2 separate regions of the Homo sapiens genome follow, and region 1 is linked to region 2. The links are contacts of gene promoters, found by promoter capture Hi-C in blood cells and fetal thymus (Javierre and others, 2016). All regions are on one chromosome and are shown on one strand. The core of a region is centred on a gene start or on the middle of the fragment in contact, and the rest is flanking DNA. Distances in the headings are between cores, read along the strand shown. Region 1 overlaps LINC01461 (long intergenic non-protein coding RNA 1461). Region 2 holds the start of RPF1 (ribosome production factor 1 homolog).

Region 1 (6,850 bases), core at 1,423-3,922, 130 kb before region 2:
ATGCCACTGCACTCCAGCCTGGCGACAGAGCAACTCTCTCTTAAAAAAAAAAAAGAAAAAAAAGAGGGAGTGTCTTATCTTCCTAAGGCCTGAAGATTTAGTTGGGACCAGGTGTCCTATGTGCATAGAGCAGAGTTTTCTATCAGTTCTTACCTCATTTCCTTGATCACATAGGCAGACTCAGTCCTTGCTGCTTTGTGCTGCTTTGTTTTGCTTATCTGGGAGGGAGAGTTTCTGTGTCTGTTCCCAGACATCTTCCTGCAGCTGCAGGCATCTCCCCACAATCCGCTTTTAGTTTCTCTATCTTAGTGTGCTTAAAGGGAAAGGAATGTGCTTATTAAGGCCCACGGTTTTTACTGGGGTCCATTGTAGGAGTGTGAAGTTTGGTGATTACCCAGGGGACTCCCCCTGTCCTTCTGTGCCCGAGTTGTTTGTTTTTACAGCCTGATCTTTCAAGCTGTTCTTTGTTAGAAGAGAAGTGATTTCTTTGAACTGCATGAGGTTAGAAAGAGAGCTATTTCTGAGCTGCTTTTTGTTAGAAGAAAAGTTTCTGCTGGGGACTCGCTTTACCCTAACTGTCTACCTAAATAAATTCTGTCTGTCTTGTATAACATATTTCCCCCTCAGGAATGGAATCCCTAACTGCTGTTAGGGGGAATTGGGCAACAACTTCTTCTGGCTACTTCCCGCTGGAGAGGGCGTGGTACGGGAACAGCATCTAGGGCTCCTCCTGGGGTCGATCTAAGGGTCCCTGGTAGAAGGGTGGTTTCCTTTTTGGCTCCATTTGCAGCACCATCTGAAGCTTGATGGTTTCTAGGTGAGAAGAGAAACTTTACAAGGAGGTTTAGAATATAGGGTCCAAATATATATAAGACTACCATTATTAGTGAGGCACTATAGGCCATAACCATGACAACAGAGTTTGTTTGATATCTGTGAGCCATTTAGATGGGTTGTGCTGTTGTAACTGGGTGTATGGGGCTTGGCTTTGTTTAGCTCCCTTGGTCTTACTGTCCCCGCCAGAAAAGGAAACCTTGGGGTTATAGGTTACCTGGCAGGATTTGCAGCATAAGTGCCCAGAACTAGCACATTGTTCCAGATTTTTATATTACCCATTCCTTTCTGTCTCCTTTGAGCCACAGCTGGAGATTGATGATTGGTTTACAGGAATAAGCATGATTAGTTTAAAATGTTGGCAAGAACTTACAAACAACTAATGAGACTAGAAGTCAATGACAGATTGTATTAGTCCATTTTCACGCTGCTGATAAAGACATACCTGAGACTGGGCAATTTACAAAAGAAGGAGGTTTAATGGACTTACAGTTCCACTTGGATAGGAAGGCCTCACAATCATGGTGGAAGGCAAAAGGCATGTCTTACATGGTGGTGGCAAGAGAGAAATGAGAGCTAAGCAAAACAGGTTTCCCTTTATCAAACCATCAGATCTCATGAGACTTATCTACCATGAGAACAGTATGGGTGAAACTGCCCCCATGATTCAATTATCTCCCACTGGGTCCTTCCCACAATTCTGGGAGTACAATTCAAGATGAGATTTGGGTGGGGACATAGAGCCAAACTATATCACAGATGTACAGTAAGTGTGGAACATAATTTCTCTCTCCAGTTCTCATTTTTATGAAAAACAACTTATGATAGGACTGAGCTGGTTGCAGAATAAACTTTAGTCCTATACTTGGCCTGATTATCTGCAAAAAGTACAGCAAGAATAATTACCTCTGTGTATTTTGATTGGTTTTGATAGAACTCTGTTCCACAAGGAATCTTGGATAGGACTTTTTGAAGCCAAGCCCAGCCATGAGTTTGTACCCTCAAATACCTGTGAGTTGGATAAACTTCTTTCTTCTTGAGGTTCCAGGAGCATGGGGTTTCCGGGCCTGTTAGAAAGTGACATTCTTTACGCACCACAGGTCAGGAACACTGTACAGAGACTGTGTAGACAAGGTATGCAGCCAGTTTTCCCAAAGGGCTTTCATTGGCTCTGCAAGTCAAAGCCTTGAAGTCAAAGCCTTGGTAAAACAATCAGTTTTTCCAATTGTGTTTTGTTGCAAAAGAAAATGGATTCTTGTTGCACTGATGCAAATAACTATATAGTTGTAATTCAAGAATACTTATAACTAGTTTCCAAATTCTAGAAGAACTAGGCAGAGAGAAACAAACATGCTCCAAACATTGTTTACAGGAGTATAGTTTACTTAGTTCTTAAAGGCTTTTAAGAAAATTTCCTTGACTCTGAAAAACAAAATAAGGATCACCAGTGTTACAAGCATAAATCAAGAATATTGCTTTAGTTTTCTATTAGTTCAGCCCATTCCATTAACTCTTGATCTGCTTGTTATTCATAAACATTTCAGCTTTGTATGAGTCCTATACATTTTTTAATCAAAAACCTGCATTTAAGAGCACCTATGTAAGTTCCACAGCTGATTAGAAACTATTTTTTTTAAGAAAAAGATTCAAACAAGACAACAATTGTTTGTAAATGACAAAATGTCCAGGGTGGTTACAGTCAAGAACATGATTGACAAATTTGGTTGTTTCTGTGGCTTACAATAACCTAACATAACAACCTTAATTGTGATTAATAGCGCGTATTATTCAGACACTAGTACCTTAGACATTCCATACAGTTTTGGAACATATGTTAATATTATTCCCTAAAATATAACCTGAAGAGTATTAGACATCATTTTGGCAATTCCATGTACCTAAACAAGTTAAATAATCCTATTTACCTCTCTTCTGGATGTTCTAGGAGCCCTGTGCAGAACAAAAAGCTAGGGGCTAGGAAAGACAACCTTGAAACTAAAGTTTGATTTTGGGAAGCCTGTTAAATATGTTCAAAATTTAAAACACTTGATATTAGATTACTGTAAGTTTTTTGTTTTGCCAAAATTATGAGTCAAAAATTTGAAAAAGCAAAAACCATTCATCAGCCCTTTCTATTACATGAAAATCCTATTCAAGAGAGAATGTTAAATTTCACCCTTGCATTTGTTTGCTATTAATGTTAACCCTGATTTTTAATGAAACTTTATAGACAATCCTATTCAATCTTAACCAGTTTGACCATGAGGTGAGATTTACACAAACCTTTTATGACCCTCTACAAATTTTGCTAAAGAGTAGATCAGCATTTTAAGAAAACCCTGTGCTTGCATTTTAATCCTTAATTTATAAAACTATATAATACCCCTTTGAAATTAGTTAATATGTTCATACACAGAGTTTCCTTTGCAAGATTAGTTTTTACAATCTTTTTACAATTTGCTTAAACCTTCTGCTTTATTTTATTTAAGACAATCCTTTATGGCTAGGCAAAATGTACATTTTCATGCCTTCTTATCTTTAATTAAAAACAGCTTTTACTGTTTTTTTACACACCTTGCATGCAAATCCATGTTCACTAGTCTCATTACATGTCATAATGGTAACACTTAGCAATTTTTAACTTTGATGTAAAACCTGGTAGGTTGTTTTAATTATGTGCTAGATGCAGATAAAGTTTGACTGCTTTCAGCATCATTAGGGGCATGGTTACTTCCATATGTTCCCAGGCCTTACCAATTGTGAAGCAGGCAAGTAGACAATATTTAAAGGCTAAAAAAGCAGTTACAACCTTAAAACATTTATCAAACCTAGTATCTGACCTGCATAATTTAGATCACATTTTTACATCCTGAAGACATTTGTATTTTACCAATAGTTTCTAAGACTGTTTTTATTTTTGAAGATTAAAGTTGTGTGAACTGAAAGGTACCACAGCTTTTACTTTTTCTTTAAAAATACTTTATTTAAGTGCTTATTTTTCTTAGTCCAATTAATTGGAGCTCTTTTCAAATAGACATTACACACATAACACATATATAACCACACAGACAAACAGAAAAAGATCCAGTGGTTCTAAAATTTTTCATTTGCTAATTTCCCAATTGGATTATTAGCCTCCTGGTGAGACCCTTTAAGAACAGGGCTAGGAATACAGTTTCCAGGGCCTAATAAACAAGCAAAGCTGGAAGACAAAGATAGATTTTGAGAACTACTTATTCACCTTTAATTCCAGGTGTTCCATGAGGAAAACAGATTTTTCCCAAAATGGGATTTGTGGCACCTTTTCTGTTTTCCCAAGGAGTCCCAGGCTACCAGAAGTCATTCTAGGGTCTTTCATGCATGCACCAAGAGTGGTAAGTCACAGTTTTCTCAGTTGACTGAGAAAAAAAGACCTTTTCCAGGAAAACAAGATCTATAAAGAGAAAAACATAAAGGCCTTTAAAATATACCCATAGGTTTGATATCCACTTTGAATTAAGCTGAGTGCTCTTTAGGAAAATCCTTTTTCACAAATAAAACTTTACAGTGAAGATAAACAGTGATTCTTACCATTTTTCCCCCAGTTTGCACCACTACTTGTTCACAATCATGTTTAGGTTCTCCAGTTTTCTCTGGGAGAAAGTGGCTGGGCTCAGGAAGTGGCAGGTTTTCAACTGGACTGCAGATCCCTTTAGCAGCAAAGCTTGATATTTGAGGAGGCAATTGTCTGTTAGCCAGACTTTCCTTAGAGGACAGTAGTCTTGTTATATTGCGTGGAGCTAAACAGTTAAGTTATTCCCCATTGTTAACCCATTGGCTGTAGAGCTGGACCTCCAGTCTTAGTCAAAACTCCCAGGGCTATTTTCTTCCTTTCCAATATACATAAAGATTAAATACCTTCCCTATGGGAAGGCTGAGAACTGGTGCTTTAAGCAAGGCTTGCTTTAGCTGGTTTAAGGCTTTTGTGTTTTAGGTTCCCAAGTTAGGGAGCTGCTTGAGTTTCTTTTAAGAGTTGGTATAAAGGATGAGCTATTTCACCATACCCTGGTGCCCACATTTTGCAAAATTCAGTAATGCCCACATTTTGCAAAATTCAGTAATGCCCAATAATTTTCTTAACTCTTAAAGGAAACGGGGTTAATCCTTTCCTCACCTGGTACTCTGGTTCCTTCTGTGCTGTGTCTGTCCCACAGACCTTGGCCGATGGGTGAAATGAGTACTCAGACACAGGTATGCAGTGTAAGAGCAGCTAGGTGACTGCCTGGCTCCAGTGGCCAGACAGCAGTCCCGAGAAGCTGGAGCTGTTTGCTTTTATTCAGTGCAGGCACAATGCCGAAAACCTGGAGCCAACACAACCTGCAGGTAATTAACATTTATTGTTCCCCTTTCAGGGAATGTTGCATGGGGATGATCCAAGGTCAGTTCCTGGTCAACATAAGTAAACAAACCGGTTTAAGATAAATTCCCCCACACTCCCTTGTACCTACTCCTTGCCCTCTGCCTTAGGGTTATAGAACAGCTGTCTTCAGCCATTCTTCCCTGGGGCTCTGCAGAAACTTCCGACCTTTCAGAAGGTTTGTGTCCTTTCCCTATAGTTTTTTCACCACCCTGACCGATCCCCCACACTTCTGATAAGATTAGGCCTAGGTACTTTACTGAAGTTTGACAGAGCTGAGCTTTAGATTTTGAGACCCTATACTCCCTTTTAGCTAAGAAATTGAGAAGAGTCTTAGTGCCTTCCTGAGACATCCTTGAATGGGGCACAGAGGAGAGTGTCATTTACATACTGCAAAGTTTCAACTTGAGAGTGAGAAAAACTAGAAAGATTTTTAGACATGGCCTGTTTCAGCAACTTCCTTTTGATATCAGGGGCTGCCTGAGTGATGAACCTGTTTTTTGTTGAATTGGAAGACAGGGAGGTGTGTTTTATTAAAGCTTCTCTCAGCCTTTCCAAAAAGGTAGGGAGATTTTTATCTGGTTTCTGATTCAATAAGGACAGTTTAGAGTAATTAAGAGGTTTGGTCCTAGTCCTTCTTAGGCCCTCTGATATGCACATTAAAAAGTATTTCCTTTTCCATTCATCTATGGGGTCACAGGGATTCCAGTCAGGATTGTCAAGAGGTATAGCCTCTCTCCCTATTGAGATTGTTTTTTTCTGTTATTTCCTCACCTTCCTTATCTCCCCTTTTCCTTTTTGGTCACTATAGGGAACATGTTGTTCATCTCCGAACTTTTCTGCTGCTTGCAGAGCTGTCTGCTTTTCAGCTGCAGTGAGGGTTTGGCTGAGAAACAACAGCACAACATCCCTCCATGTGAGGTAAAACACTTAAGTTAAATTTTGGAAGGCCTCTATATATCTATTAGGGTTATCAAGAAATCAGCCCATTTATCTGCCTAAGGTCCTGCAATGAGAAGGGAATAAGTACCTTAATGGTGCCCCTTCCATCTGGCATTTCTTGTAGGGGTAGGAGTGAAGTCTGGGCAGTGGGGAGCTTTGGAGATGGTGGAGCTGGAGGAGCTGATGGTGCAGCTGGAGGGGGCCCTGGACAAAGGGGACTGGAAGGACTGGGGCACTTAGAAGCTGCCTCTAATGGTTCCTCCAAAACTTGCTCTTCTGACTTAGGGGAACTACTCTCCACAGACCTGTCTGATATGATTGCTAAGAGGGCTGAGTTGGTTTTGCAATGCTTGCAAAGGTCTGGGTTGTCTCGCAGGGCAAAGGAAGCCTGCACATAGAGAACCTTGGACCATTTGCTCTTCCATCTACAGAAGAGATCTAATTGCTGGATAAGATTAAAGTTAAGGTTCCCTTTAGCTGGCCAGGTCTGTTCATTCCTGAGAGGGTAAGAAGGCCACACCCTTGTGCAACAGAAAATGAGCCACTTTTTCTTCAGAGTTTGGGTGTCAAAGGAGTTCAAAATGTACTCCAGCAGAGTGCAAGCCAAAATGACTTGCTACCCATCCTGGAAAAGAGACAAGAGGAGAGGCATCCCTCAGTCTCCTTGTTCTTTTTGGT
Region 2 (7,006 bases), core at 107-2,606:
CTAACTGGTGGCATCCTAAAGACGACCATGGTTATGCTGCTTGCTTCTCTTGAAAAGCACTAAAAATAGGAATGGGAGCTGAGTTTTCAGGTTGTTTTCCATAAAACCATCACCAGTTATTCACATATTTTATAATCAAAATATACTTCTAAAATTTAGTAAGAGCTTGCAAGGTGGCTTAAGATTATCTGTATTTGTATTGTCAATCTATATATTCTTCTGGAGATTTCTAGATAGAATGCTTGACAAAATAAAAAATATTCTTTTTTCCCCAGCACCTACTGATCCTCAATCCACCAGGTTTCAGATTAGAAATCATAGCTCCAATAAGTCTTCCAGGACATCCCTCCCCAATACGTGCATACCAGAATGAGTTAAACGCCCCTTGTATGTATTGAAACAGCACCTTGACACTGAACATGAGTAAGAACCAGTCCCGGGCCTCAGAAGGGCCAGTAAGAGGAGGCAGACACATAATAATAATATTGTGTGAACTTCTACGATGTGCAAGAATAAGCAAACGTTTTCTTCCAATTGCAATTTAACCAGAAATGAGCACTGCGACCTTGACAAGTCGTTTAAACCTCTTTACGTTTCAGTTTGTTTACCTACCAGAAACGTATAAGGATAAAGCTGAAAAGAACAAATACAATTACCAGAAACTTTACAGTACTAATTTCGGTAAGGAGCTCCTGCAGGAATCAGAGAAGCAGTATTTTGGATTTATTACGTATTGCCTCCATTTCAGATTCTGCAAATTAACCAACGCTACCTAGACGGACCAAAGGGCTGAGACTTTTGCCTTCTGGGCCAGGAGGGCGTAGTTTTCACTACTAAGCCAACTGGCCTTACAGCTTTCCTTGTGAATCTAGCGTCCCAGGAAAGAGCCTATCAAGATAATCTTCCACCTTGACGCTCAGGCAAAAGGCTGAACCTAGAGTCTCCAAACTAGGGCGAGGGGACCAGAACACGTGGGCCGCGACGCCACCCTTCCCACGGAGCCACAGAGAACACTTTTGAGACCAGCAGACAACCACAGATGTGCGCCCCGCGACCGCCCTAAGCGTCAGGAACAACGCGCAAGCGCCCGGCAGCCCCCGCCTCTCGCGTACCTTCCGCTGCTGCTGTTTCCACCGCGTGAACATTAAGTGTCGCCGCTGTTTGTTTTTAATCTCCGAAATGCTAAAGCCTGGCGGAAAGGCAGCCGCTTTCGGGGGTTGGACCCCGTTTTCCGTCGCCCCATCCCCAGCGCCTGCAGCCTCCTGAAGTTCTTCGGCAGCGGCTTTCCGTTTTAGACTTTTCTTCCCGCTGCTGCTGCTCTTATCCCCGGCTTTCGCCATGGTCTTGGCTCCTTTGCTTCCGTACGGAAACGGAAATAGCCTTCTCCTGTGACCCCCTTCCTTAACCTTTTACTTCCGGGGTCGCAAAGTTTTTGACGCTAGATGTGTTTTGTGAGTTTTAGCCATTCAAGAAAATAGTAAAGCTGAGGCTTGAGGAAACTTTAGGCAGTTTGCCCAGCTGTATAAAGAGTGAGATGATGAGTTTGGGCACTCCTTGCGCATCTATGTGCCCAGCCCTCAAAATAATGGAACAACAACAAAAACCGTGCCTGGATTAGTTTACGTTTTACTTGAGGGAAACCTAAAATGAGCATACAAATAAATTATGGTGAGCTACAGAGTAAGACATGGTATGGAAAAAAAATAGAACAGGATAAAAGAAGATGAAGAGACATTCATCTTTTTGAGACGGAGCCTTGCTTTAATGCCCAGGCTGGAGTGCAGTGGCACGATCTCCGATCACTGCAAACTCCTCCTCCTGAGTAGCTGGGACTACAAACACGTGCCACCATGCCCGGCTAATTTTTGTATTTTTGCAGAGATGGAGTTTCACCATGTTGGCCAGGCTGGTCTTGTACTCTTGATTTCAGGTGATCTGTCCGCCCTGGACTCCCAAAGTACGTTGCAATTTTAAATAGGATTCTCAGAGTAGGCTTCATTGAAAACGTTACATTGAGCCAAGGTTTGAAGGAGGTAATGGGCTAAACTAGTTATCTGAGGGAAGAGCTGTTAATCTGAGAAAAGCTGGTTATCAAGGAGAAAAGCTGTCCTGGCAAAGCAAACAGCCAGCTCCAATGCTCCTAGTCAGTAGCAAGCCAGGAAAGGCAAGAAGTGTTGAGATTGGACAGGTGGTGTAGAGTTTTGTAAGGACTTTGGCTTTTATTTTATGTGAGATGAAGATCTCTTATAGAATTTTGAGGAAAAGAATGGTATGATCTTAACATCTTAAAAGTATCAGGCTGGTGCAGTGGCCCATGCCTGTAATTTTAGCACTTTGGGAGGCCAAGGCAGGAGGATTGCTTGAGCCTGGGAGTTCAAGACCAGCTTTGGCAACACTGTGAGACCCCATGTCTACAAAAAGTAAAAAAATATATATATCTGTTTGGGCATGGTGTACATCTGTGGTCCCAGCTACTCAGGAGGCTGAGGCAGTAGGATCCATTGAGCCTGGAAGGCTAGGTTGCAATGAGCCATGTTGGTGCCACTGCATTCCAGCCTGGGTGAGAGGGTGAGACCCTCTCAAAAAAATAAATAAAAATAAAGTAAAAGCGTCATTCAGAATCTTCTTTTGAGAAGAGCCTATGCAGGGGCAGGGTGTGTGGAAGAAGGGAAGAAATGATAGTGGCCTGAACCAGGGTAAGTCTTGTGTAGGTGGTTGAGAAGTGATTCCTCTGGAAGGTAAAGTTACTGATGGAACTGAAGGGAGGACATGAAAGAGTCAAGGATGACTCCAAGACTTTCGACCTGAGTGATTCAAAGGATGGAGTTACCATCAGGTGAAATGCGGGAAAGTTCAGATGGAACAAATCTGAGAGGTAAGATCAAGATTTCAGTTTTGGAAATGTTAAGTTTGAGATACTTTTTAGTGATCTGATTGGTGGTGTCAACTAGTCAGTTGGGATGTATGATTCTGCAGCAGGACAGAGAGGTGTGGGCTAAAGATCAAACTTTGGAAGTAATTGGCACATAGGTAGTATTTCAAACCATTAGAATGAGTGTAGATAGAAAACTGAAAAAAGAAGATCAAGGACTGAACCCTGGAGGAGTCCTGCATGAAGAGATGGAAAGAAAAGGAGGACCCAGCAAAGGAGAAGGAGAAGAGAAAATCAAGAGAGTAGAATGTCATGGAAGGCAAGTGAAGAAAGTGTTTTCCTAGTGGTTAAATTTGCTGTATTCTTCATTCTAATTTTATGAAAATGCTTTCCAAATAGCAACAAGAAATCCCTTTTGATTTACTGTTAGGAGTCAGTTTTCCAGAATCTGCCTTAATTTCAAATTTTATGTACCAATATCTATATTTCGTGTTTTGAGAATCCAATATGTTTTTGTCCACATTTCATTTTTCACCCATTCAAATTCTATTTAACAACAGCAGGATATTAAAAGCATCAAAACTGTGTCTTCCAGAACACAAGCTCCATCCAAACCTGCTATTAGATCACAAATTGAAAATTGTTGTTAAAAAACTTAAAATCATTATGTTTAGATCCAAAATTGGATTTAAGTTATATAATACAAAAAAAGGAAAAAAATAGCATTGAGTTTTAAAATCACTGACATATAGATTTGGCTGCAGTAAATCATAAAATTTATCTGGACATGGTGGCTCATGCCTGTAATCCCAGCACTTTGGGAGGCTGAGGTGGGTGGATCACTTGAGGTCAGGAGTTCGAGACCAGCCTGGCCAACATGGTGAAACCCCATCTCTACTAAAAATAGAAAAATTCGCTGGATGTGGTGACAGTTGCCTGTAATCCCAACTACTCAGGAGGCTGAGACAGGAGAATTGCTTGAACCTGGGAGGCGGAGGTTGCAGTGAGCTGAGATGGTGCCATTGTACTCCAGCCTGGGTGACAGAGTGAGACTCCATCTCAAAAAACAAAACAAAACAAAAAAAACCCCAAAACCATAAAATTTCATATATAGTTTATTTAAAGGGGGGTAATCAAGTCAAAAAGGAAGAGTAGTCCTGGGGCTGTGGCTCATGCCTGTAATCCCAACACTTTGATAGGCCAAGGTGGGAGAATAGCTTAAGCCCAGGAATTCAAGGTTGCAGTGAGCTGTGATTGCATCACTGCACTCCAGCCTGGGTGACAGAAGGACCCTGTCTTAAAAATAAATAAATAAATAAATAAATAAATAAATAAATAAATAAAAGAACAAGAGGAGGGGGAGAAGAAGAAGAAGGGGAATAAGTAAATCTCCATCCTGGAAATACAGACTGAGAAAATATTTTGAAAGTCTCTTCTAACTGTAACGTTTTATCTCCCTACATATAATATTTCCTTTTCTCATAAGAATACAAAATAGTTTTGAAATAGATTTAGATAACAGTGTTAAATTTATTTAGAAGCACCATACAAATGAGATCATTAACTCCTTAACTTAGACTTCCTTTTTTTTTCTTCATGCCGTATTTATAATAACAATTGTATGAGTTGAATGAAAGGATTTCTATAATCAGAATAAGTCCTTATTCTTAAGTCACAAAAACATTGATTAATTCAACAAATATGTATTAAATGCTACTCTGTAAATGAATAGGGTGGGTTGTGTTCAGATCTTGGCTCAATCACTTAGATGCTATAAAATCTCAGTTAAATCATAAAATGTCTGTGGGTCTCAATTTGTCTGTAAACTGGGGCTAATTATACTGCCACATAGGATGTATAGAGAGGAGTAAAGATGTATATTAAAGAACCAGACACACTCAATAAATGCTAGCTAGCTATTTTTACCATTTATTGGTGTCAGAGACTGTTCTAACTAGTGTGGAAGAAAAAGGCATCATGTTTGCCATTAAGTAGTGTACAATTTTAGAAGAAGATGAAACACAAGAATAGAGGTCACTGTAGAGTGCTTTACGAGGTTCATTTCAGCCGTTCACTTTCTCTCACCAATTCTTTCATTGCCCATTATTTTCCAGGCCCACTTCCAATAGAGTATATGTTATTTTAAAATAAAGCACTTACTTTTAATACTTAATACAATTTTTGCCTATTTGTTTTGATTCTGACATTTGGGGCACGCTGGAATACAACTCTTAGGCACCAGGTGAGTTCAGTGATCCAAATCAAGATTCTCTTCAGAAAATTTGACCTATTATTTTACAGTATGACTTAAGCTTTTTACATCACAGAAACCCATTCCGAAGGCACAAAATATGAATCCATTGCATCAGAATAAGGAATAACCAATTTGGTTGTTGGCACATTTTTTATTTACAATGTTGTATAGGCCTTTGACAAACATAAAGTAAATTAAAGCTTCCTGACTTGAATTATGCCCTACACTCTACTGGTGGGAATAACAGAACTATTATAGAACTAACCTCTCATCTGTGGATGCTTCAGTAGTACCCAAGAGCTATTGTTGGCATTTAAACCACTTATCCTAAGAAGTTCTGAGAGTTCTTTTTTTTGTTTATTGTATTATTTAAGTTATCTTAATGACTAACAAGGTTTGTTTCTCAGGATTTACTGACCCAGGAAGTATGTTGAAATGTTATTACAGGGATTCATAGTGTCAATTAGATTCTCACAATGTCAGCTCTCCTTTGAAATAGACACATAGACTGATAAAACAGAATAGAGAGCCCAGAAAGAAACCCTAGGGTCAACTAATCTTCAACAAGGGTGCCAAGAATATGCAATGGAGAAAAGATAGTCTCTTCAATAAACAGTGTTGGGAAAACTGACAATCCACATGCAAAAGAATGAAATTGGACCTTCTTCTTACACAATACACAAAAACCAACTCAAAATGGATTACAGAATTAAACATAAGACCTGAAACTATAAAGGTTCCAGAAGAAAACCTAGAGAAAAAGCTCCTTGACGTTGATCTTGACAATAGTTTTCTGGATATGATACCAAAACACAGGTAATAAAAGCAAAAATAACTAAATGGGACTATTTCAAACCAAAAACTTCTGCACAGCAAAGGAAAAACAATCAACAAAAAAAGCAACCAATGGAATGGGAGAAAATATTTGCAAATCATATTATTTGATAAGGGGTAAATATCCAAAATATATAAGGAACTCATACAATTCAATAGCAAAAAACCAAATACAGTAGTCCCCTGTTAGCCACAGTTTCCTTAAGTTGCCCTCAGTCAACTACAGTCCAAAATATTAAATGGAAAATTCTGGAAATAAACAATTTATTTTATAAAACAGAGTCTCTCTCTTTCACCCAGGCTGGAGTGCAGTGGCGTGATCTCAGCTCACTGCAAGCTCTGCCTCCCAGGTTCAAGCGATTCTCCTGCCTCAGCCTCCCAAGTAGCTGGGATTACAGGCATGTGCCACCACAACTGGCTAATTTTTATATTTTTAGTAGAGATAGGGTTTCACCATGTTGGCCAGGCTGGTCTCGAACTCCTGACTTCGTGATCCACCCACCTCGGCCTCCCAAAGTGCTGGGATTACAGGCGCGAGCCACTGCGCTCAGCCATAAACAATTTATAAGTTTTAAATTTTGCACCATTTTGAGTAGTATGATGAAATATCATGCCATCCTGCCCTGCCTGATGAAATAGCCATTTCGGTTATTAAATGGATTGGCATAGTGTATATAGGGTTGGATACCATCTGCAGTTTCAGCTATCAAGTGGAAGTCTTGGAAGGTATCCCCTTCAGGTAAGAGGGGACTGTTATAATCTGACTAAAAAGCAGGAAAACTATCTGAAAAGATGTTTTCCTAAAAAAGACATACAGATGGCCACCAGGCATATGAAAAGGTGCTCAGCATCACTAATCATTAAGGAAATGCAATCAAAACCACAATGAGATATCACCTTACACCTATTATACACTATTATTATATTATACTATATTTACTATATACACTATTATATTATACTAATATTATACACTATTATTAAAACAAAAGGTAACAAGTATTGGCGAGGATGTGGAGAAAAGGGAACACTGTTACGCTGTTGGT

What was found. Contacts are between HindIII fragments. The CHiCAGO score rates a contact against its expected background, and 5 or more counts as called.
Region 1: a contact is called between a fragment that was not itself captured here and the fragment with the promoter of RPF1 in region 2, in 1 of 17 cell types (neutrophils). The highest score is 13.6, in neutrophils.

Annotation. Positions count from the first base shown.
Region 1 is chr1:84,605,442-84,612,291 of GRCh38, reverse strand. The region is part of intron 2 of LINC01461 (long intergenic non-protein coding RNA 1461); the gene reads left to right. Among named protein-coding and RNA genes, the nearest start is that of LINC01461, 12 kb to the left of the region's middle. The HindIII fragment of the contact is 3,735 bases long and covers 805-4,539 here.
Region 2 is chr1:84,473,616-84,480,621 of GRCh38, reverse strand. RPF1 (ribosome production factor 1 homolog) reads right to left here and starts at 1,356. Exons shown (of 9, transcript NM_025065.7): 1 at 1,113-1,356. The coding sequence starts at 1,340. RefSeq lists enhancers at 780-939, 1,135-1,695. The HindIII fragment of the contact is 6,088 bases long and covers 1-5,186 here.